Regions from separate parts of the Homo sapiens genome. Here regions 1, 2, 3, 4, 5 and 6 are each linked to region 7. The links are contacts of gene promoters, found by promoter capture Hi-C in blood cells and fetal thymus (Javierre and others, 2016). All regions are on one chromosome and are shown on one strand. Each heading gives the region's core, a stretch centred on a gene start or on the middle of the fragment in contact. The rest is flanking DNA. Distances are from core to core; before and after follow the strand shown. Region 1 overlaps ZNF267 (zinc finger protein 267). Region 2 holds the start of SETD1A (SET domain containing 1A, histone lysine methyltransferase). Region 3 holds the start of HSD3B7 (hydroxy-delta-5-steroid dehydrogenase, 3 beta- and steroid delta-isomerase 7). Region 4 overlaps STX1B (syntaxin 1B). Region 5 overlaps FBXL19 (F-box and leucine rich repeat protein 19). Region 6 has its middle 12 kb from the start of ZNF267. Region 7 holds the start of COX6A2 (cytochrome c oxidase subunit 6A2).

Region 1 (2,700 bases), core at 82-2,581, 460 kb before region 7:
CATTTTAAATCTGGGGATCCTGAGCTTCTGCAAATCTGACTGAATCAAAAACAAACAAAAAAAATTGGATTTTAAAGTGTAAGCAACAATAGTTTATGTCAACCAATTTCTAGAATCACGACTAGAGTGAAACTTGTACATCACCTCAAATAAAAAGGCGAATGTCAAAATCAAACATTATGAAATTTTTTCTACTTCAACAAAACCCCTATTTTTTTCCTGAAAACAAGAATCTAAAACTAACTCATACAAAGCACAAGATCCCAAGGGACATTCTGAAAAGAAAATAAAACTCTTAGTTATTAGATATTCCGAAGGCAAGTTATCCTCACCCAGAGAGACCAGGTTTCTGTAGTTTTCTAACATCACATCCTGATACAAATTCTTCTGAGCTGGTTCCAGGTGTTCCCACTCCTCCAAAGAGAATTCTACGGCCACATCCCTGAATGTCAACAGTCCCTGAAATAAAAATAAAGAATACACTGACCATGTGGCCATGGCAGAGTTCTTCATTTGTCCCAAGATGAAATGACAGTTATTGGTTCTGACATATATGAGTGACCTGAATTATTCAGTAAGATCATTTTTAACACAGTAATATTTTCTAATGTAGTCTCAAACTCTGTGGAAAGAAAATAACATAAAATCCACAAAACTAGTGTAGATATTTATATCAAATGTAAAATATAAAACTAAGGCATCAACACAGGAATATACATTTTTGGGTGCTATATTTACATCATCCAGAATCAGCTGTGTATAATTCTCAGGTGCAAAAGTCATGGTGACTTAGAGGCATACTTCTCAAATTGTATAGTATACAACAATAAACTGGAGATCTTCTTCAAAGGCAGAGTCTGATTCAGGAGATCTAGATTTTGAGTTTCTGCATTTCCATATTTTTTAATTTTTAATTTTGACACAGGGTCTCGCTCTGCCACCCAGGCTGGAGTGCAGTGGTTGAATCTTGGCTCACTGCAGCCTCAACCTCCTGGGCTCAGGCGATCCTCCTGTTTCAGCCTCCTGAGTAGCTAAGGCTACAGGCATGAGCCACCATGGCTGGCTGAGTATCTGCATGTCTAACAAGTTCACCAGTAGTGTTAATGCTTCAGGCCCCAAAGCCACTTTTGAATAGCAGAGAGGTCGAACACTGAGGAAAGAATTCAGGCATGATGTGAAACTGAGAGTTTTATGAAATTTACAAGTTATAACAGCTAGAATGGTAGTAATCCTTTTTGAACATGCACAATATATCAGATATCATCCTAAAAGTTGTTTACATATATAAAACCCAATAAATAATCTGAGAAAAATTATATTCTTCCTCTTATATAAAAATTATTTTCCAAATATTTGCTACATAGTAGTTTGTATTTTGCCTCAGTTTATCTGATTTAGAATTTATCTCAAAGGGACATACCGGCCAATATACAGAGACAACCTTAACAGAATGTTCAGAGAAGATTTCGTAACTGAGTAACGAAAACAAGAAAGCAGCCACACAATAGTGATCGAATAATGCTTTCATTTTATGTGCATATGTGCACATAATGGTAACTATATACACACTAAAAGTAAGATAATATTTCTGTGTAAATAAAATTTAAAAATATTTTAAATTGTATAAAAACTATAAAACTCTTTGTGGGTGATGCCTTTTTTGTGATGCCTTTATAAAGACCAATACATACAATGAAATAAAGTAAAGGCTCTTGTTTCTGAGTCTGGTATTTTTTTTCAAGTTTTTGTTATGTTTATTCTATGTGCTATTATATATTTTAGAATTTTAAGACAATAGACATATTTGTTATATGTTAATTCTTGTTCTTTCTCTGAAAATATAGAGAATAAATAAGCATATGCTTGTGACATGAGATGAAATAAAATGGAAACCTACAGAACTGAGACCTGCTTCAGAACTTCCAGTCTTAAAAGCTGTTATCTCCTGTCAACAAATGTGAGAGCCTTTACTCTGCAAAGAAAGCTACAAGCAAAGGGAAACCAAAAAGAAATGGGAGTCTCTGGATTAAATGTGATGGTTTATAGACATCACTCAGTAAATCCTCCCTCCTAGATACTCATTACAAAGAGAAAAATGATTAACTTTATAGCGAAGGAATCTGACAGAGAGCACCTGCACCAAGTGAATGAAGTTAGCATCGTCTGTAATAAGACAAATTGGTACCAGTGCTAATGCACAGATGGGCCCATAATCATTGCTGTGATATGGGCGGAGGGGAACAGTAAATCATAATCTTAATATAATCATAAAAAAACAATCTGTGGGGGAAGATACAGGTGACCATAGATCTTCAAACTGGTTATGTGACCCTACTTAGAAGCCTGGGCTGAGAATCACTTAGCTAAGCATTGCCTCTCAAGGTTCAATACGCATACATATCATTTGGTATTCTGGGCCCCCTCTAAGTAATGTGATTCTGCAGGTTTGGAAAGTTTCCATGAACTGGCTTCTTTAACAAGTCCCCTGTCAATGCTGATGTTGCTCCTCCTAGACCCATTATCAATAGCACTCAGCTAGAGGAAGCAGACACAGCACAGAGTCCCTTACGCCCAATACTCTAATCACAACAAAAATACTTTTCGTTCACAGTGAGGACCACCAACCACTGTCCTGAAAGATCACACCCTTTGCCAGCCATTTAAAGTCTACAGATACAGAGACTGGAGAAGACAGTTATG
Region 2 (2,794 bases), core at 206-2,705, 470 kb after region 7:
CAGGAGCCCAGCAGACACTTACCTTAAACTTAGGGACTGGGAGGGAAAAGTCTCTGTTTTTGGACCTGACATGGCAACGGGGGTCTTGGAGGTCTTCGACTGGTATATACTTTGAGTCCTAGGAAGGAAAGCAGCAGCAGAAAGAGAGCTCAGGGTGAATCCAGGCTAGGGAGCTCCAAGCAGCCCATCTGGACACACACATGCAGAAGAGCTGGGTCCAACTGCCCACTTTCAAGAAGGCAGGCTACCGTTCTAGGTGCTGAACAGAATCACAGAGGACGGGCGCCTGGAGCTCCCCGGATGGCAACCAAAGACCCGGGCACTCACGTTGACACTGAAGTGGACTCCATCATAGCGGTACACCTTCTGAGAAGGCCTGCGCAGGGCAGGGTCCAAGGCAGGATCCACGATGAGCTTGTAGTTCCGCCACTGGAAGCTCGGGGCCTTCTGCCCATCTCCCCCACCTTCCTGATCCATCTTTGCTCATTTACACTGTTAGGGGAAGAGGGACACGCAAGAAGGATCAGGACTTGGGGCCTGACTCCCCTGCCTTTCCTCATTGGCTAGCCCCGATTCCAGGTTCTCCCATCACTCCAGTTTCCAACCCTCACCCTGACCCGGGGCTCCCCCGGATTCTCCCCCAAGTACCCTCTGTTTCGCCACAACAACCCAGCCTCTTTCCACCTCCCAACTCTACTGTCAGGCCCCCAGGCCCGTCTCGAGCCCCCTTACCTTCCCGCTCTCCCTAGCGCGCGCCCCACTTGGCCTCGGAGCAAGACCCCTCCCCCGCCCCCTGCAGGCCCCGCCCCCTCCCGCCTCCTCACCGGCCAGCGGCCCGGGCCGAGCCCGGCCACGGCTCCCACACACCCGCTCTCCTCCCCGCGCCCCGATCCTCCGGCCGAAAGGTGGCACCTCTTCGGGGCGTTGGAAACACCGCGAGACCGAGCCCGAGACCCGGCTTCGACCCCGAATCCGGGCGGGGGGGTGGGGGGAACGTGCACCGCTGCCCTCTCCTCCCGCCCCGGCGCGTTCTGCACCCCCCCCAGCAGGTCTCCGCGCACGCGCGCCGCGCGGCCCCACTCACCCGCTCCCGGCGAGCGGCTCCCCCTCCCCCCACCTCGCGCGGCACCTCAGCGGCGCGAGGCGGCGGCAGCGGCAGCGCGAGACCCGGCCCCGCAGCGGTGGCGGCGGCGGCGCCCCCCCACCACCACCTCCCCGGCGCGCGCACCAAACACCACTGCCACCTGCGCGAGGCCCAGCGGGCACAGGGTCTGCATTCGCACTTTCGCCACAGGCGCTGCCGGGGGACCCACGGGGCCGAGGGTAGCGGCTTCGCCTCGGCCGGCGCCCTGGGAGGCTCGGAAGTTGCGGCCCAGGGAGCTTGGAGATTGGCCGCATCCCCCGGAGAGTCGGCTTCGCCACGACGATCTAGATGCTGCGGCCCGGGACCTTGACGAATCGGCGGCGACGAAAGCTGCGACTAGTCCCTGAGGAAAAGGGGCGGGGCGGAGGGGAGGAGGCCAGCCAGCGCTGGGGAACCTTCAGTGGCGCGTTCTGCAGACGCAGATTCACCGGGCGGGCGGGGCGAATCGCTGGACAGGATGCGCGCCGCTTTGCTTCTCTTCCCCGTCCCTTCCTTGCACTGCCAAATTCTGAGAGGCTGCAGATTCGCCACTGTTCCCGGCCTCAGCCGTAGCCTCCCCTTCATCCGCCTTGGTGGAGTCAAGAAAATAACGGCCCGTTAGCCAATCCCTGCTGGCAGAGTCGACAACTTTTTTTGGATTTTTCTTACTGGCCCAAGTGAGAGAATAGCCCGCTTCTGTCCCTGGGGAAAATGCCTCCAGCCCAGCGCTCCTCTCAGAGTCCGATGAGAATTTTCAGCCGAGTATCGAGGGACCCGAGGAATTCTGAGGATCCGACCTGGCGAATCTGCGGATTCCGCTGTGGGCGGGGCCGAGTCAAGGGGCGGGGCCAGGGCGTGCAGAGCCTGGGACTAGGGGGCGCCTCCGGGAGGACCCACGAGGACTCACCCGGATGGGAGGGACGGCCGGGAGGTGGAAAAACACAACCGTGAGCGGTGACTCAGGCGGTTTGCCCCGCCTCGCACATAAATGCAGGGTACCTTTCCTTCCCGTTATTGCCCTTGGGTGTCTGGCTGCTTAGGATGCCCATTTGCCAGATGGGGAGAGTGAGGCCTGTAGAAGGTGCCCTACTTTGCCGTACTCAAACCCACCATTAGTGGTTAAATCCAGGGACCGCCTCAAGGTTTTCTGATGAGCCTAGTGGGGCCTAAGTGCCCTTAAATGGGCCTTGTAATAATAAACGAGGTCCTACAGGAACGGGACTGGACTGGTGTGTCCTCCTGGCGTCATGGTCCCACTGCCCGCTTCTTTGGCTATGGCGCCCTATGCTCACGGGATGCCTCCGCACAAGGGCAGCAGCGGCCCAGGCCTACCCCTGGAACTCGGGCTGAGGTTTCTGAAGGCTGGGCACCGTTTTGATCCCGTGTGGGCGCAGGCACTCCCAGGAGGTCCCTTTTCCTGAGCTGAGGATGCCCCAAGCTCCTGATATGTGTACATCAGGCCCTCGCTATATGGCCTTGGGCAAGTCATTGACCTAAGTTTCAGAGTCTTCCTTTAAACTTGGATGTCAATTTGTACACATCCGAACAGTGCAGAAAAGACCCTTAGAGCCTGGTTTATGCAAATTCACCATTTTAAGTAATAGGAAAAGGTGGAAGGGAGACTTATCCAAGGTCTCACACCACAAGATAGAAGAAGATTAGGACTCTACA
Region 3 (2,762 bases), core at 1-2,500, 440 kb after region 7:
GTCTGCACACAAGCCTCGATCACGTTCCGGGTACCTGGCAGAGGAGGAGGCGTATCCAAGCTGCAGCTTCTTCCCTCTCTGCATCTTCCTCCTCCCCATCCCAGGTCCAGGGAAAACCATGACAGGTCAGGGGAGGCGGGGGCAGGGCTGTCAATAGGACAACTTGTCCCAGGGGAGTCACCGGAGGTCAAGGCCAAAGACAGAGTGGGGAACAAACAGGCAAGATGGCCAGGAGTGTCCAGAGCTCCTCACCCTGCACGTTGACCTCATGGATGGTCTTGGGACTGGCCCTGCCAAACACGTCTACCAGCCCAGCCGTGTGGATGACCACATGGGCTCCGGCCACAGCTGCTGCCACCTCATGGGCCTGGGTCACGTCCCCCTGGATGGCAGTCACCCTCACAGGCCCTGGCCGGGGTTGGAGGACACAGGCCATGTCAGAGCTGGGGCCAGAGGCCAGAGGCTGGGTTCATCTTCCACCCTGGAGTCACGTTCCCAATGTGACTCACTCGACCCATCCATGTGGACAGAAACCAGCATCATCTGTTCCACTGCAGGGGTGGGGATCCCAGCTTGGGAAGGGTTGGGGAAGCGTCCACACCCTCTCCACCACAAGCTCCCCCAACAAGAACCTGTCTTCAGCTCCTCCAGCCAGGGACCCAGGTGTTGGTCAAAGACCCGCAGCTCCCCGAGCCGGGGCTCCCGCTGCAGCAGCATTCGCACCACGTGCTCTCCCAGGAAGCCACAGCCCCCTGTGACCAGGTACACCAGCTTCTGGGCCTGTGCAGAGTCGGCCATGCCTGGCTGGGGAAGAGACCTTGGCTCATCCAGGGGCTGGCTGCCACCTGCTGCAACCACCTGTTACTGCTGGAGGTGCCCTGGAGCGGTGACGAGGCTGGCGTTTGCGGGGAGGGCAGAGCTGATCCTGGGAGCTGCAGCAACCAGGCCACCTGCCGTCTGCCCCTGCTGATGGCTGAGTTACGGAGAGAGGGGCGGGCTTGGGGTGCAGGAAGGGGTCAGGGTTTAGGGAGAGAGATTTGAAGGCAGTAAAAGGGTGGGGAGGCCAGGAGTTGAGGGAGGTGGAGGGAAGGTTATAGGAAGGTGGGAAGGGCCGGATGGAGGGAAAGGCCACCTGGGCACTGGCAGCGCCTCTGCCTACCTGCAGCCGCTATCCCAGGGTGCCCAGACTGGCCTGGAGGGGCCCTCTTCTTTCGTCCAGGGCTGGCCGGCCCGCACACCGTCCTTCCGCTGGCTCCTCCTTCTCCCTCCTGCCCCATTCCAGGAACAGAGACCCGCCCAGCCACAACCCCCACCACTCTTGCCCCAAGGCGCCCCCTGGCGGCCGCTCTGTGCTCCACTGGCATCTGGGTCCAGCGGAGAACTTGGTGGGGATGAAGCTCGAACTTGCAGAGTGGGCTGAAGGGGTCTGGGGCTGTGGGTGGAGCCAGCGGTGACCTCATCCCACAGTGTGACCTCAGGCCTTCCCTCCTGCTGGGCTTCCCAGGAGGCCGGAGGTCCAGCTGCAGCTGTGATTGTAGGAAGGGGAGGCCTGACCTTGGCACCACCCTGGCGGGCACTGGTGGGGTATTCCTGGTGCGGGTGCGGCTGCTGCAGCCTGTCAGGGGGTCCGAGACAGTCTCGGACTGTCTCTGCAGGTCTGGGCTCTTGCCTGAAGGCCCCTTTACCTGCCCCACACTTCAGGTACCCACTTTTCCCTCTCTTCAACTTGCACAACCCTCCGTGCCCTCTACCCCCAACCCCTCGCTCCTGCCCAAATACACCGACCAAACACTTTTGTACAATAAAGTTTAATCACAATTATAAAAATGTGGCGTCGGGTTTGCGCTATTAACATATGTACAGTCCAGCCCAGCAAAAGGGACCCACCCCGCCATCCTGGCCTGGCTGAGCCGGGGAGTGACACCAGGGTGGAAGGGTGACCCTCAGGGTCTGGCAGGAACAGATGAGGCAGGGTTCCAGGCACGGAGTCCCCAGGACTGGGGGTGCAGAGCCCCCCCAGGGGGAGAACATGGCCACTGCCCCAGAGACCCCTAAACTGGGGAGGGGTACACGCAGGGCGTAAGGGGAAGTCCCCATTAACACAAAGCAAGAGGACTGTGTAGCCCCCCAGGACAGAATCTGTACAGGCCGGCACCCCAGGTTTCCACAGGAAACAGCTGCTGGCTGCTACAAAACATTTACAGCTTCTTCTCCGCAAAGAAAAACAATCAGGGGGTGGTGGGCAGGGGTGACAGGAGAGGCAGAAGCTGCCTCCAGGGACTGAGGCTCCCTCGCTGGGCTTGGGGCCCCCAACCCCACGCTTGGAGATGGGGGCATGTGGGCCCTGCTGAGCCCACTAAGGCTGGGGGGGTGCTGGGAGCTCAGGGCACCAGGGGGAATAAATAGGGGTGTGGGCACCCATCCTGCCCCACCTCAGTTTAGGGAGCCCCGGCAGCTCTCTGTGCCACACAGACACGGGATCTTGTTGTCTTCCAGTGGGAACTTGTAGTCGTAGGTGATCTCCTCGTCCACGCCAATGGGCTGCTTGGAGTAGATCACGATCTTCTTCTGGGACTCGATGGTGATGACCTTGGCGTAGCAGTTAGGCTGCGGATGGAAGGGCGTGTGAGCCGTGGCCACCCCCACCGACCCCCAACTCCTGCCCCGGCTGGCCCCTGGCGCACCGTGCAGCAGTGGTTGATGAATCTGGCCAGGTTGCCACACTTGGTGGCATCGATGATGGTGTCGTGGTCCACCCGGAA
Region 4 (2,850 bases), core at 48-2,547, 420 kb after region 7:
GAGGCTGGGAGGGATGGCCTCCTGTCCAAGCTCTTCCTGCAGCCCTGGGCCCCTCCTACTGATTTTCTGTCCTGGCTGCAGGAGTTCAGCAGTCCTGAGGACATGGCAGAGTGGGCTTTTTAGGACCAGGAGGGACTGCCATCTGTCAGCAGGACAGAAGGGAGAGAGCCTGACATTTAGTGCCAGACAGTCCTGGGTTCAGGTCCTACCTCTGGCCTCATTTGCTGTGAAGCTTTAGGCAGGTCAGGCAACCTCTCTGAGCCTGTTTCCTTGTCTGTAACATGGAATCAGCCGGTGGTAGGCATTGTTACCACTCAGCAAATGCAGAGACTAGGCTCAGGGGTAGAGCCAAATGGTCTTCTAACAGCTGACCTGGGGCAAGTTCTTTTTTTTTTTTTTTTAAGAAACGGGGTCTTGCTCTGTCACCCAGGCTGGAGTGCAGTGGCACAATCACAGCTCACTGCAGTCTCTTGACCTCCTGAGCTCCGGGGATCCTCCTACCTCACCCTCCCAAGTAGCTGAGACTACAGGTGCGCACCACCATGCCCAGCTAATTTTTGTATTTTTTGTAGAGACATGATCTTGCTATGTTGCCCAGGCTGGTCTTGAACTCCTGGGTTCAAGTGATCCTCCCACCAGAGCCTCCCAAAGTGCTGGGATTACAGGCGTGAGCCACTACAACTGGCCTGAGTTATTTAGCTCTATGCCTCAGTTTCCCCATCTATAAAAGGGGGCTATAATAATACCTCCAAGGGGACTGTTGTAAGAATGAAATGGATAGATATATGTGGAGCACATAGAACAGTGCCTGGCACATTGTAAAACATCATCTAAATATTTGCATAAGTATAATTATGTTGGCCAATGGTCCTTACAGAGTCCTAATGAAGATTAAATGAGATAACAAGAATGTAAGACTTACGCAAAAAATACCATCAAGTGCTCTTGTTTTGCTAGGTTGTCCGGACACAGAGCCTTCCCCAGATTGGGACTTAGCAGGCGCTCACTGAGAGGGAAAGTAACTGGGAGCGGAAAGTCAGTGGGGGAGGTAGCCCAGTCTGGAGCCTAACAGCGGTCTTTGAGGGGCTGGATGCCCATGGTTTTCTGGCCCTATGTGGCCTGGGTGCCCTTGGGCAAGTCACTCTCCTTTTACCCCCCTGGCTTCCTGTTCCCTCATCTGTGAAATGGGGACGATGATGTTTATGCAGCTTTTCTCTCAGGGCTGGTGGTGCTGAGGATCAAAACGGATTATGGATGTAAAAGTGTTTGTAAATGGTAGAGGATTATTAGCTCCCAGCTCTCTTTGTATTTATTATACCAAATAAACCACACTTGGGCCTTCTATCATTCTTCCTGTCTTGAGGGCAAACAAATAGGTAGCCCAGGGTGCTCCAGAGATGAACCTAAGGGAGGTGGCTCCAAGAACAACAGGAGAGATTGAAATTAGATTTTAGGAAAGACTTCCTAACATTAGCATGGGGAAGGGAGAGACACAGAGAACAGGAAAGTCCTCAGGCACCCGGGCCAGGGAGAGGCCGCATGACCTGCGTGAGGCTGGTGGCTGAGTGAGTGGTTGAAGGGAGAGAAAGGGCAGAGGAAGGCTTTTGGCTCTAGGGGAAGGAGGCCTTGTAGCACAGCTGGATTTTGAGGACAGAGAAAGTGAAGAGCATCATGGTAGGCCGATGGGTCCTCAGAGGTGAGCCCAGCATCCCAGAGCCTCTCAGGGTCCCCAACTTATGCCACCTGTGCCGCCCCACTTTCTGGGGGCAGCTGTGAGCCAAGACAGAGGAAACTCCCTTTCCAGGCGGATGGTTGGGATTGTCTGGAAATTCAACACAAGTGCTGAACACATTTTCCGACACAGTGTGGGCCCAGCGTCTGTGTGAAGACTCCCTGGAGTTCCATTTGGGCTGGGCTTAGCAGGGAGGCTGGGGTGGCTCAGGAGCGTGGAGCTGGAGGCCCCCCAGGCTGTGCTGGCTTTTCCTGGGGCTGTGGGGCACTGCTGATCCTGAGTTTTGGCTGTGTGGACTGCACCTAGGTCCCATCTGGCCCTGTCTAGGTTCAATCTGAGCTGTCTGGGATCTGTCTGGGATCCGTGTGAGCCTCGGCTAGTTCAGTCTGAGCCTGTCTGGTTTCTGTTAGGCCCTGTCTGCGTTCCGCTGGGACCCTGGCAAGCTCTTCTTTTTGGATTCCAACTGAGTACACCCCCAGGTGGATGCTGTTTGGATCCTGTCTTGATTTCACCCAGCCTCTGGGGTTTGGATTCTGTCTGAGCTCTGGCTGGGTTCTTTTTGGAAATCAGAATGAACTCTGTATACATTTCCACTGGGGCTGATCAGGGCTCCAGATGTCATTAAGCTTGATGGACTCAGATTTTGCTGTCAGACCTCTGTCCCAAGCAGAGAAGGACTCAGGTGTGTGTAGCACAGGGCACCTCCCCTACAGCCTCTCCTGTCCAGCTCTGAGTGTGTGTGCAGACATGAGGCTCGGAGAAGCTGGAAGAACAAGCCCAGTGAGCCCTCCCAAATGTCCTCAGGGGTGCAGCTGAAAGCCAGTGTGTCCACACATGTCAGTGCGGCTCAGCTGTGAGTCTGCGTGCGGGTGAACGCCAGCATCAGTGCATCTCCGTGTGGGTGTCGGGGGGGCCTATTCCTGTGTGCCTTGGGTGTCAGCTCTTCTGTCTGTGTCTCGAGTCTGTCTGTCGGTGGCAGTGGTGCTGTGGGTGGGTAAATCTCTTTGTGTCTCTGAGCCCTGCGGGTGGAGGGTTGAGCAGCTGCAGGTTGCAACTGGGAAATCCAAGCCAGCAAGAGTAGGTGGGTGTGAAGTTGGAAGGGGCTGGATGAAAGCAAG
Region 5 (2,773 bases), core at 187-2,686, 490 kb after region 7:
TGAGAACTCTCTTCTCTGAGTTCAGTAGTTCTCAAAGGCATGTCCAGAAATGCCTCTGAGACTCAATAGACTGTGTCAGAAGCAGCAGGCCCAGGAAGCTTTTTTTTTTTTTTCTTGAGACAGTGTCTTGCTTAGTCACCCAGGCTGGGGTGCAGTACTGCGATCACAGCTCACTGCAACCTTAAACTCCTGGGCTCAAGCCATCCTCCTACCTCAGCCTCCTGAGTAGCTGGGACTACAGGCACATGCCACCACACCTGACTTTTTTTTTTTTTTTGAGACAGAGTTTCGCTCTTGTTGCCCAGGCTGGAGTGCAATGGTGTGATCTTGGCTCACTGAAACCACCATCTCCCAAGTTCAAGCGATTCTCCCGCCTCAGCCTCCAGAGTAGCTGGGATTACAGGCATGCGCCACCACGCCCGGCTAATTTTTTGTATTTTTAGTAGAGATAGGGTTTCTCCATGTTGGCCAGGCTGGTCTCGAAATCCTGACCTCAGGTGATCTGCCCACTTTGGCCTCCCATAGTGCTGGGATTACAGGCGTGAGCCACTGTGCCTGGCCTATTTTTTTATTTTTAGTAGAGACAAGGTTGTCCAGGCTGGTTTTGAACTCCTGAGCTCAAGCGATCCTTCCCTTGGCCTCCCAAGGGAAGCTTTCTCTTGCCTCCCTCCCTGCCCTCATGACTCTGAAAGGCTTTTCCTTGTAGAAGCCCTGGGCTGGGGCAGTGATTCCCAAGCTCCAGTATTTGCTGTTCACTTATCTGCGTAACATGATTTATCTTTGAATCATCTCCTCTTTGCACTTAAAACCAGTATTGTTGCCGGGCGCGGTGGCTCATGCGTGTAATCCCAGCACTTTGGGAGGCCGAGGTGGGTGGATCACTAGGTCAGGAGATCAAGACCATCCAGGCTAACACAGTGAAACCCCGTCTCTACTAAAAAAAAAATACAAAAAATTAGCTGGGCGTGGTGGAGGGCGCCTGTAGTCCCAGATACTCGGGAGGCTGAGGCAGGAGAATGGCGTGAATCTGGGAGGTGGAGCTTGCAGTGAGCCGAGATCGTGCCACTGCACTCCAGCCTGGGCGACAGAGCGAGACTCCGTCTCAAAAAAAAAACAAAAAAAAAAACCCCAGTATTGTTTCACATAAATATGTTAATCTTAAAAATAAACACAAAAGTCCAAGTGTGGTGTAATCCCAGCACTTTGGGAGGCCAAGGTGGACAGATCACGAGGTCAGGAGATTGAGACCATCCTGGCTAACACGGTGAAACCCCATCTCTACTAAAAATACAAAAAATTAGCCGGGCGTGGTGGCGGGCACCTGTAGTCCCAGCTACTTGGGAGGCTAAGGCAGGAGAATGGCATGAACCTGGGAGGCGGAGCTTGCAGTAAGCCGAGATTGCGCCACTGCACTCCAGCCTGGGTGACAGAGCGAGACTCTGTCTCAAAAATAAATAAATAAATAAATAAAACACAAAAAAGACCAGAGTTATTAAATCCTAGCCAGGTGTTGCTGTGGCTTTAGGCTACTACCTGAAGACTACTTTTGTTAAACAGGGAGATAAGTATCAGAGAAGTGTTAGAAAAAGCACCCAATAGTGGCCAGGCGCAGTGGCTCACGCCTGTAATCCCAGCACTTTGGGAGGCCGAGGCAGGCGGATCACGAGATCAGGAGATGGAGACCATCCTGGCTAATACGGTGAAACCTCGTATCTGCTAAAAATACAAAAGATTAGCCGGGCGTGGTGGCAGGCGCCTGTAGTCCCAGCTACTCAGGAGGCTGAGGCAGGAGAATGGCGTGAACCCAGGAGGCGGAGCTGGCAGTGAGCCGAGACTGCACCACTGCACTCCAGCCTGGGCGACAGAGCAAGACTCCATCTCAAAAAAGAAAAAAAGCACCCGATGGAGAGACTTCCTTCCAATGGAAAGACTTCCTTTCCAAAACTCACAGAGGGATTAAGCCATATTTTTGTGTCACTGAAAAATGCCAGACCTACTCCAGAGGCCCAGTGTGTCATTTCATTATTTTTTTCAGACAAAGTCTCACTGTCGCCCAGGCTAGAGCTCAGTGATGCAATCATAGCTCACTGCAGCCTCAAACTCCTGGGCTCAAGTGATCCCCTTGCCTCAGCCTCCCATGTGGCTGGGACCACAGGTATGCTTAGCTAATTTTTTCTTTTTTAATAGAGATGGGGGTCTCACTATGTTGCCCAAGCTTGTCTTGAACCCCTGGGCTCAAGCAATTCTCCTGCCTCAGCCTCCCAAAGTGCTGGGATTACAGGCGTGAGCCACTGGGCCCAGCCCTGGTGTGACGTTTTAGAGAAGGCTGAGGGCACAGACACCAAGGCTTCAGTCCGAACACCTTCACCCCTCTGCCACTCGCTCTCCTGTTCCCTCCTACCCTCATCCTGCTTTTCTGGCATTCTAGCCTCTCCCTCTCCTGATTCCTTCCTCTCAACTAATAAACATCTGCAAATCTCTCCAATTCAAAACATGAAAAGGAAAAAAACCAACTCATGCCCGACCCAGCTTCTACCCCTAGGTCCTGCCCCTTTGCTCTTTCTGTGAGCAAGAAAATCGGTGACATCTGCTCTATCCAAAACCTCTCTCTGCCCACTGTGACCCTGCCACGACTGCCTCCCAGCTTAACTGTCACCACTTCCTTGAAGCCACTTCCCTTCCACGGTCCACAGCTGGAAGGAAGCCCCTTTCCCTGGGGGCACCCACAGGACCCCAGTTGTGTTTCTGTATCATACTCCACAACAGCCAGGCC
Region 6 (2,700 bases), core at 72-2,571, 430 kb before region 7:
CTTTTTGAATGGAGACAGGACCACCACCATTGTGTCAGCCCAGCTTTTCCTTCTGCCCCTGGTTCTTGAGATCTTGAGATCATGAGAAATTTCCTTTGAAAGTATGTGATTCCTCTTTCTTGATTCAAGGTGAAACTCTCTTCCAAGGAATCCCCATTCTTGTAGGAAACTCTGGATTTCCTAGTCTCTCCAAGGACTGGCCTACAAGGGACAGAGAAAAGTGAATACACCTTGAAACTACTCAGAGTGTATATTTGAGTGACTTTCAGAGACCCTCCCTCTATGCCACCAAGGCCTAAGCATGACCTTGTTTCTGTTGGTGGGAGATGATAAAACCTTACTTGGCAAGTTTGAAAACGAGGATTGCTGGGCGAAGTAATGTCCAATCTTTAAACTCATGGACATATCAGGAAGCATCTGTGCATCTGGATATTTATGATGCTCAATAATGGATAAAGACACCTGAAAAGTGAGTGAACAAAAGAATTTTCAGGCTAAATATTCCTTCCCCTGAAGGGTTCTTCCTTTGTTTCAGGCATAGCGATCTGGCCTGAGAAGGGGCCTTGGGTCACCTTGTGGTCACCAGGACTTGCTTGCAAGAGCTCCATGTATAACAGGCCATAGACTCATCATCTGTGGAGCCACTCCTGTTGCCCAGAATAAGAATTCATGGCTGCCAAAAGTGCCTGTGGTTAGAGCAGAAAGATTGCGAGTTGGTGGGGGAAGAGAGCTAATCCAAAAATTAAAGAAAAGGGTATTCAAACATGAGATAATCTCTTTATCATGCCTTTCCTATAAGTTGATTAAATACGGGAAATCACAGTACTGAAAATAATAATCTAAAATTCTAACTACTAAACTTTGAGCTACGATATATGTGTCACTATAAAGTAATAGAGAATTTATCTCAGTCCAAAATTAATAACAAAGAATTTCAAAATCAGTTTTGAGCTTTGCCTTCTATGTATGTGAAAGAACAAGATCCAGACTCCCTCCAGCATCAAACAAGTAGAAAGCCAGATCCACTATGTGACCTAAATGTGTCCAGATGCTAGAAAGTATCTGATAGGGGCACAGGACAGTGGCCTGGAGGCTGAATCCAAGGGAGGGGACCCCCTGGCTGCCCCAACTCAGAGCCTGCAGAGAGCGTCCAGGAGGCAGTGCAGTGAGGCAGGATCCCGACAGAGCATGGAAATCCCTGAGTTTAGGAAACAGGATTGATGATATAAGGAGAAAGGTGGCTGGAAGGCACAGGGCTGAGTACCAGAGAGCAGGAGGGAGTGGCTGAACTGAGGTAAGACTGGAGAGTAGAAGATGGGGGGTCACTGAACCATTGGCAGATACAAGGGTAATCACCAATTAAACAAATTTGTCCCAGTGAAAGAGGAAAAAGGAACCCTGCCTTTTTCTTTCAGAGCATTTTTAAAAGAAAACTTGTCCCTATGAGTTTCTTCTCTGTCCCCTTGTGACGTATGGAAGTCTCCAAAAGTTAAGTAAGCCGCTTACCAACTTCCAACCAGGACTGTCTTTCTCAAGGGCCTGGGAGCCATCTCTCTAAAATGGAATCATTAAGGGAGCAAGTTCCCATGAGAGGGTAGGAGCCCAGCTTCCGCCAGTGCCTGGCTCTAACTTACTAACCTACTCCTGCCATAAACTATGAGACACTGGTCTTTTCTTGTCATAAATGTGATTAGTGAACACAGTGGGTACCCTTGAGGGACATGTAAAAACAGTGCTGTCAAGTCCCTTCCCTGAGGACTGGTTACTGTTTATCTCGGGAACACGCATGCACTGGTTGTAGCTGCCTGGCTATGCACAAGGGTGAGATTTCCTTCTTTCTTGCAATGTGCTAGGTTATTATCTGTTTTGTGCATCACAATGCCGTTTAATGATTCTTCAATGAAACTGTTTTCTTTCTCTTCTATCTTTCCGGAGAGATTTCCTGAGTTGGCAAGAGACTTTGTTGTTAATCATATTCCCCACCACAGGTAGTGACATCACTATGCTAGAGGGGAGCTGAAGACCTGAGTGGCAGCATCTCTCCCTGCTGCCTCAGCCAAGGCCCCAGTGCCCAGGAAGGGATGCCACCACCTGGAGTAGAGCCTCAGATGGGAACTAATATCAGTAACTTGATATTTCTGCTTGGATAATGGGCAAATTAGAGATAGCTCAGTTTAATCCATTCACAACCAAGCATTTCAGTTCTGGGGAAGACAGACTAGACATACATGTCTCTATTCTTCCCAATAAGTACAACTAAAATCCCTGGACATTATACATGAAACCAAATGGAGAAAGCTCTAAAAGGTGGAAGAAAGCAAGCATACTGTTCGTGAACCGAAGAAAGATGTGATAACAGAGTGGGGTGAAACACGGGTTTCTTTGCCCATATACTGTAGTCTTGGAGCTAAAGAAACTGGCAACTCAGATACACCAATAGGCAAAGGCAAAAAAATAAAACCAGAAAACTTTTATCCAGTGACTGCCCTACTACAGCCAAAACCACTGAAAAACCATGGCTGCCTGCCCACGTATGCCACCAAAAGCCAAATGAGAGGCTAGAGTTTCACCTATGCCAGGATGAAATGCAGACAGCACCATAGGCTTTCTTTCCCTTTTGTGTTTTATAAATTGTATTTGATGCTTTAAGGAAAAATGGTAAGATTTTCAACTATGATAATTTCTGTATATAACGTAATA
Region 7 (2,975 bases), core at 280-2,779:
GCTCAAGGAGGTTATTTTTTTTAAAAATAGCAGCAGCTTAAAGTTGGATGGAACATACTGTTCAGTTTATTACCAATGAGAAACAGGTATAGAGCCCCTTCTTGAAAATATATCTTCCTCGTTTTTTTTATATATTAAATTCAGATTATATGTCTATATAATTCATTCTTCTTTTGTATATTAAGTTCATATTAGTACATCAGCCCTTGATCAAAGCTAGAAGCTTCCTATTGGATTGTAATTCTGAAAAGGCATTGTTGTAGGGTTAACCAAAGTAACAAGGTTCAAGCATTCATTACATACATATTTTTAGAACACCTCCTTCATGCCAAGGTCCCTGCCCGTTGCTGAGGACAGAACAGGCAGATGTCATCCCTGCCTGGTCTTGTGGCTTTCTTGTGACCTGCTTTGATAGAGGGTTCACACCAGCCCTGTCTAGGCTTGCTTTCTCCAAGTAGTCATATTTTTCAGATTGAAATAATGCACTTTGCAGTAGACACCTGTCAGGCTTGTGGCTGCCTGGAACCTTTTGAATACTCATCCTAGACCTGGAGATTTTCCCTACAATTCCTGCCTCCCTAAGGCAGAATCCAGAGCTCAGTTTCCCATCCCCTCCTGCAGCTGGGGGACCTAGGGGTTGCCAGTTGGTGCAATCACATAATTCTTTCAGAAAAGAGCGACCCAGGATACAGGTTTCATGAAGAATCTGTTTTCAAGAGGGGATGAGGGTGGAAAATTCTGGTTTTCCAGGGCAGCCTTAATGAAGCTTTTGGCATCCAGGGTCCAGCAGTGTGAGCTGTGGGGGTGTCACTGCAGCTGGCCAACGGAATGACTTGTTTATGACTGTGCAGACTGTAGGCATCTCTGGCTATATCAGACATAGTAAGCTACCTAAGATTCTCAATTACTTATCTTCTAAAACTAGTAAGAGTGAGTTCTGTTCTTTGCAAAGAACTGTGACTAATACATATACTGAACTACTGTTACCTGCCAAAATCCAGGTTGACACATTCCTACCTTACATAAACTTCATAAAAATGATGTAAGGGCCGTGTAGTGGCTCATGCCTGTAATCCCAGCACTGTGGGAGGCTGAGGCGGGAGGATCACGTGAGCTCAAGAGTTCCACACCAGCCTGGACAATATAGTGAGATCCCCGTCTCCAGTATTTAAAAAATCTTTTAAGGTACGAATTATTATACATTTTACAGCTGAAAACACTGAGACTCAAAAAGACACTTAATTCATTCTACAAATATTTATTAAAGCCCAACTGTGTGCCAGCCACCAGGCATAGAATAGGGAACAAAATAGTTTCCCTGCAACTATATAAAAAGAATGGCATATTGTACTTAAATGCCTCCTTGCCAAAATAAGAGGCACAGGACAACAGCTGTCTGGAGATGACCTCAAGCCAGTCAGGCCCCATTTTAAATATAGAAACCCCTAAGAATAGCCGCCAGTGCTCCAGACTCAACAGGTGATTGGCCCAGAGAGGGGAGGTGACCCCAGGCCCCAGGAAAGGGAGCGAGGACAGCGCTGGTTCCCGGCTCCCCGCACCATCATGGCTTTGCCTCTGAGGCCCCTGACCCGGGGCTTGGCCAGCGCTGCCAAAGGAGGCCACGGAGGAGCAGGAGGTGAGTGGGGAACGGGCGGATCCGGGGGCTCCCCTACCCTGCCCACCTGTTCACAGGCCCGCCGCCCCAGGACCGCCGCGCTCACCCCGCTCCGTCCGCAGCTCGTACCTGGCGTCTGCTGACCTTCGTGCTGGCGCTGCCCAGCGTGGCCCTCTGCACCTTCAACTCCTATCTCCACTCGGGCCACCGCCCGCGCCCCGAGTTCCGTCCCTACCAACACCTCCGCATCCGCACCAAGGTACGCGGGACGGGCGCGCGGGCGGCACGGGGGTGCTGCGGGGGCGGGGGGGGGTGCTGCGGGGGCGGGGGGGGGTGCTGCGGGGGGGGGGTCGCGCGGGGCGCGGACTCCGGACTCACGGCGCTCACGCGCGCTCCCTCCCCCGCTCTCTCCACAGCCCTACCCCTGGGGGGACGGCAACCACACTCTGTTCCACAATAGCCACGTGAACCCTCTGCCCACGGGCTACGAACACCCCTGAGGCCCCGGACGCCCCCGGACACAATAAAGGTGTGAAGCTTCGAGTCTGCGGCTCTGTGGGGAGGGCGGGGCCACGGGGAGCGCGCCCAGAGGCGCCCGCTCCGCGCATGCGCCCAGCTTGGTAAGCGCTCCTGCTCCGCGCATGCGCCTAGCGCGGTGGGCGCTCCACGTGCTTTTCCCACGCCGCTGATACGGAGGTGCTCGAGGGAGCCTCCTCCACTCACAGGTAGGCGATCCCAGCTCCCTGTCTCTCACCTGGTAATAATGAGGCCTCCCTCTCACACACACCTATTAATAATTAGGGCTCTAGGCTGTAATGGGCTTCCGCGTACACCGAATCCTCACAGTAACGCTGGGAGCAGGGTATAAATTTAGTTCACCTTCTCCCGAGGAAGACCTGAGATTCTTGGGAATTAAATGACTTGTCCAAGTTCCGGCAGCTCGGCAGAGCCCCCATGGGAGCCCAGGGCTGCAGATCCTGAAGTCCCACTTCTTGCCTGACACCTGAGCTGCTGGTGTCTGTGAATCCCAGCTCTCTGGATTTCAGACGGAGGCTCCACAGTCCTGTGTGTGAGGCCTTGGGACCTAATGCTGGATTTGGAATCTTTTGATAATTCTCTATAATCTTTCTTTCTTTTTTTTTTTTTTTTTTTGAGACGGAGTCTCGCTCTGTCGCCCAGGCCGGACTGCGGACTGCAGTGGTGCAATCTCGGCTCACTGCAAGCTCCGCTTCCCGGGTTCACGCCATTCTCCTGCCTCAGCCTCCTGAGTAGCTGGGACTACAGGCGCCCGCCACCGCGCCCGGCTAATTTTTTGTATTTTTAGTAGAGACGGGGTTTCACCTTGTTAGCCAGGATGGTC

The links. Contacts are between HindIII fragments. The CHiCAGO score rates a contact against its expected background, and 5 or more counts as called.
Region 1: a fragment that was not itself captured here is called in contact with the fragment with the promoter of COX6A2 in region 7 in 1 of 17 cell types (erythroblasts); the score reaches 6.0 in erythroblasts.
Region 2: the fragment with the promoter of SETD1A here is called in contact with the fragment with the promoter of COX6A2 in region 7 in 4 of 17 cell types (monocytes, total CD4 T cells, total CD8 T cells and 1 more); the score reaches 5.7 in monocytes.
Region 3: a contact is called between the fragment with the promoter of HSD3B7 here and the fragment with the promoter of COX6A2 in region 7, in 11 of 17 cell types (naive CD8 T cells, activated CD4 T cells, total CD8 T cells and 8 more). The highest score is 11.0, in naive CD8 T cells.
Region 4: a fragment that was not itself captured here is called in contact with the fragment with the promoter of COX6A2 in region 7 in 15 of 17 cell types (monocytes, naive CD8 T cells, total CD4 T cells and 12 more); the score reaches 13.3 in monocytes.
Region 5: a contact is called between a fragment that was not itself captured here and the fragment with the promoter of COX6A2 in region 7, in 5 of 17 cell types (monocytes, naive CD4 T cells, total CD4 T cells and 2 more). The highest score is 6.8, in monocytes.
Region 6: a contact is called between a fragment that was not itself captured here and the fragment with the promoter of COX6A2 in region 7, in 4 of 17 cell types (total CD4 T cells, M1 macrophages, activated CD4 T cells and 1 more). The highest score is 7.0, in total CD4 T cells.

Annotation. Positions count from the first base shown.
Region 1 is chr16:31,882,257-31,884,956 of GRCh38, reverse strand. ZNF267 (zinc finger protein 267) reads right to left here. Exons shown (of 4, transcript NM_003414.6): 2 at 333-459. Among named protein-coding and RNA genes, the nearest start is that of ZNF267, 9.8 kb to the right of the region's middle. The HindIII fragment of the contact is 4,868 bases long and covers 1-2,700 here.
Region 2 is chr16:30,956,415-30,959,208 of GRCh38, reverse strand. SETD1A (SET domain containing 1A, histone lysine methyltransferase) reads right to left here and starts at 1,455. Exons shown (of 19, transcript NM_014712.3): 1 at 1,245-1,455; 2 at 328-492; 3 at 23-118. The coding sequence starts at 477. RefSeq lists silencers at 747-836, 977-1,196 and enhancers at 1,797-1,926, 1,384-2,147. The HindIII fragment of the contact is 14,721 bases long and covers 1-2,794 here.
Region 3 is chr16:30,983,695-30,986,456 of GRCh38, reverse strand. It overlaps HSD3B7 (hydroxy-delta-5-steroid dehydrogenase, 3 beta- and steroid delta-isomerase 7), which reads right to left and starts at 1,250. Exons shown (of 7, transcript NM_025193.4): 1 at 1,160-1,250; 2 at 633-804; 3 at 253-408; 4 at 1-34. The coding sequence starts at 798. It overlaps SETD1A (SET domain containing 1A, histone lysine methyltransferase), which reads right to left. Exons shown (of 19, transcript NM_014712.3): 18 at 2,685-2,762; 19 at 1,793-2,607. The coding sequence ends at 2,434. RefSeq lists an enhancer at 1,269-1,781. The HindIII fragment of the contact is 29,451 bases long and covers 1-2,762 here.
Region 4 is chr16:31,002,229-31,005,078 of GRCh38, reverse strand. All of the region lies in intron 1 of STX1B (syntaxin 1B), which reads left to right. Among named protein-coding and RNA genes, the nearest start is that of STX1B, 7.0 kb to the left of the region's middle. The HindIII fragment of the contact is 2,126 bases long and covers 235-2,360 here.
Region 5 is chr16:30,937,763-30,940,535 of GRCh38, reverse strand. All of the region lies in intron 7 of FBXL19 (F-box and leucine rich repeat protein 19), which reads right to left. Among named protein-coding and RNA genes, the nearest start is that of ORAI3, 9.9 kb to the left of the region's middle. The HindIII fragment of the contact is 1,563 bases long and covers 655-2,217 here.
Region 6 is chr16:31,860,877-31,863,576 of GRCh38, reverse strand. It overlaps the pseudogene RBM22P13. Among named protein-coding and RNA genes, the nearest start is that of ZNF267, 12 kb to the left of the region's middle. The HindIII fragment of the contact is 9,415 bases long and covers 1-2,700 here.
Region 7 is chr16:31,426,914-31,429,888 of GRCh38, reverse strand. COX6A2 (cytochrome c oxidase subunit 6A2) reads left to right here and starts at 1,529. Exons shown (of 3, transcript NM_005205.4): 1 at 1,529-1,636; 2 at 1,738-1,874; 3 at 2,032-2,158. The coding sequence starts at 1,564. The coding sequence ends at 2,115. The HindIII fragment of the contact is 1,386 bases long and covers 769-2,154 here.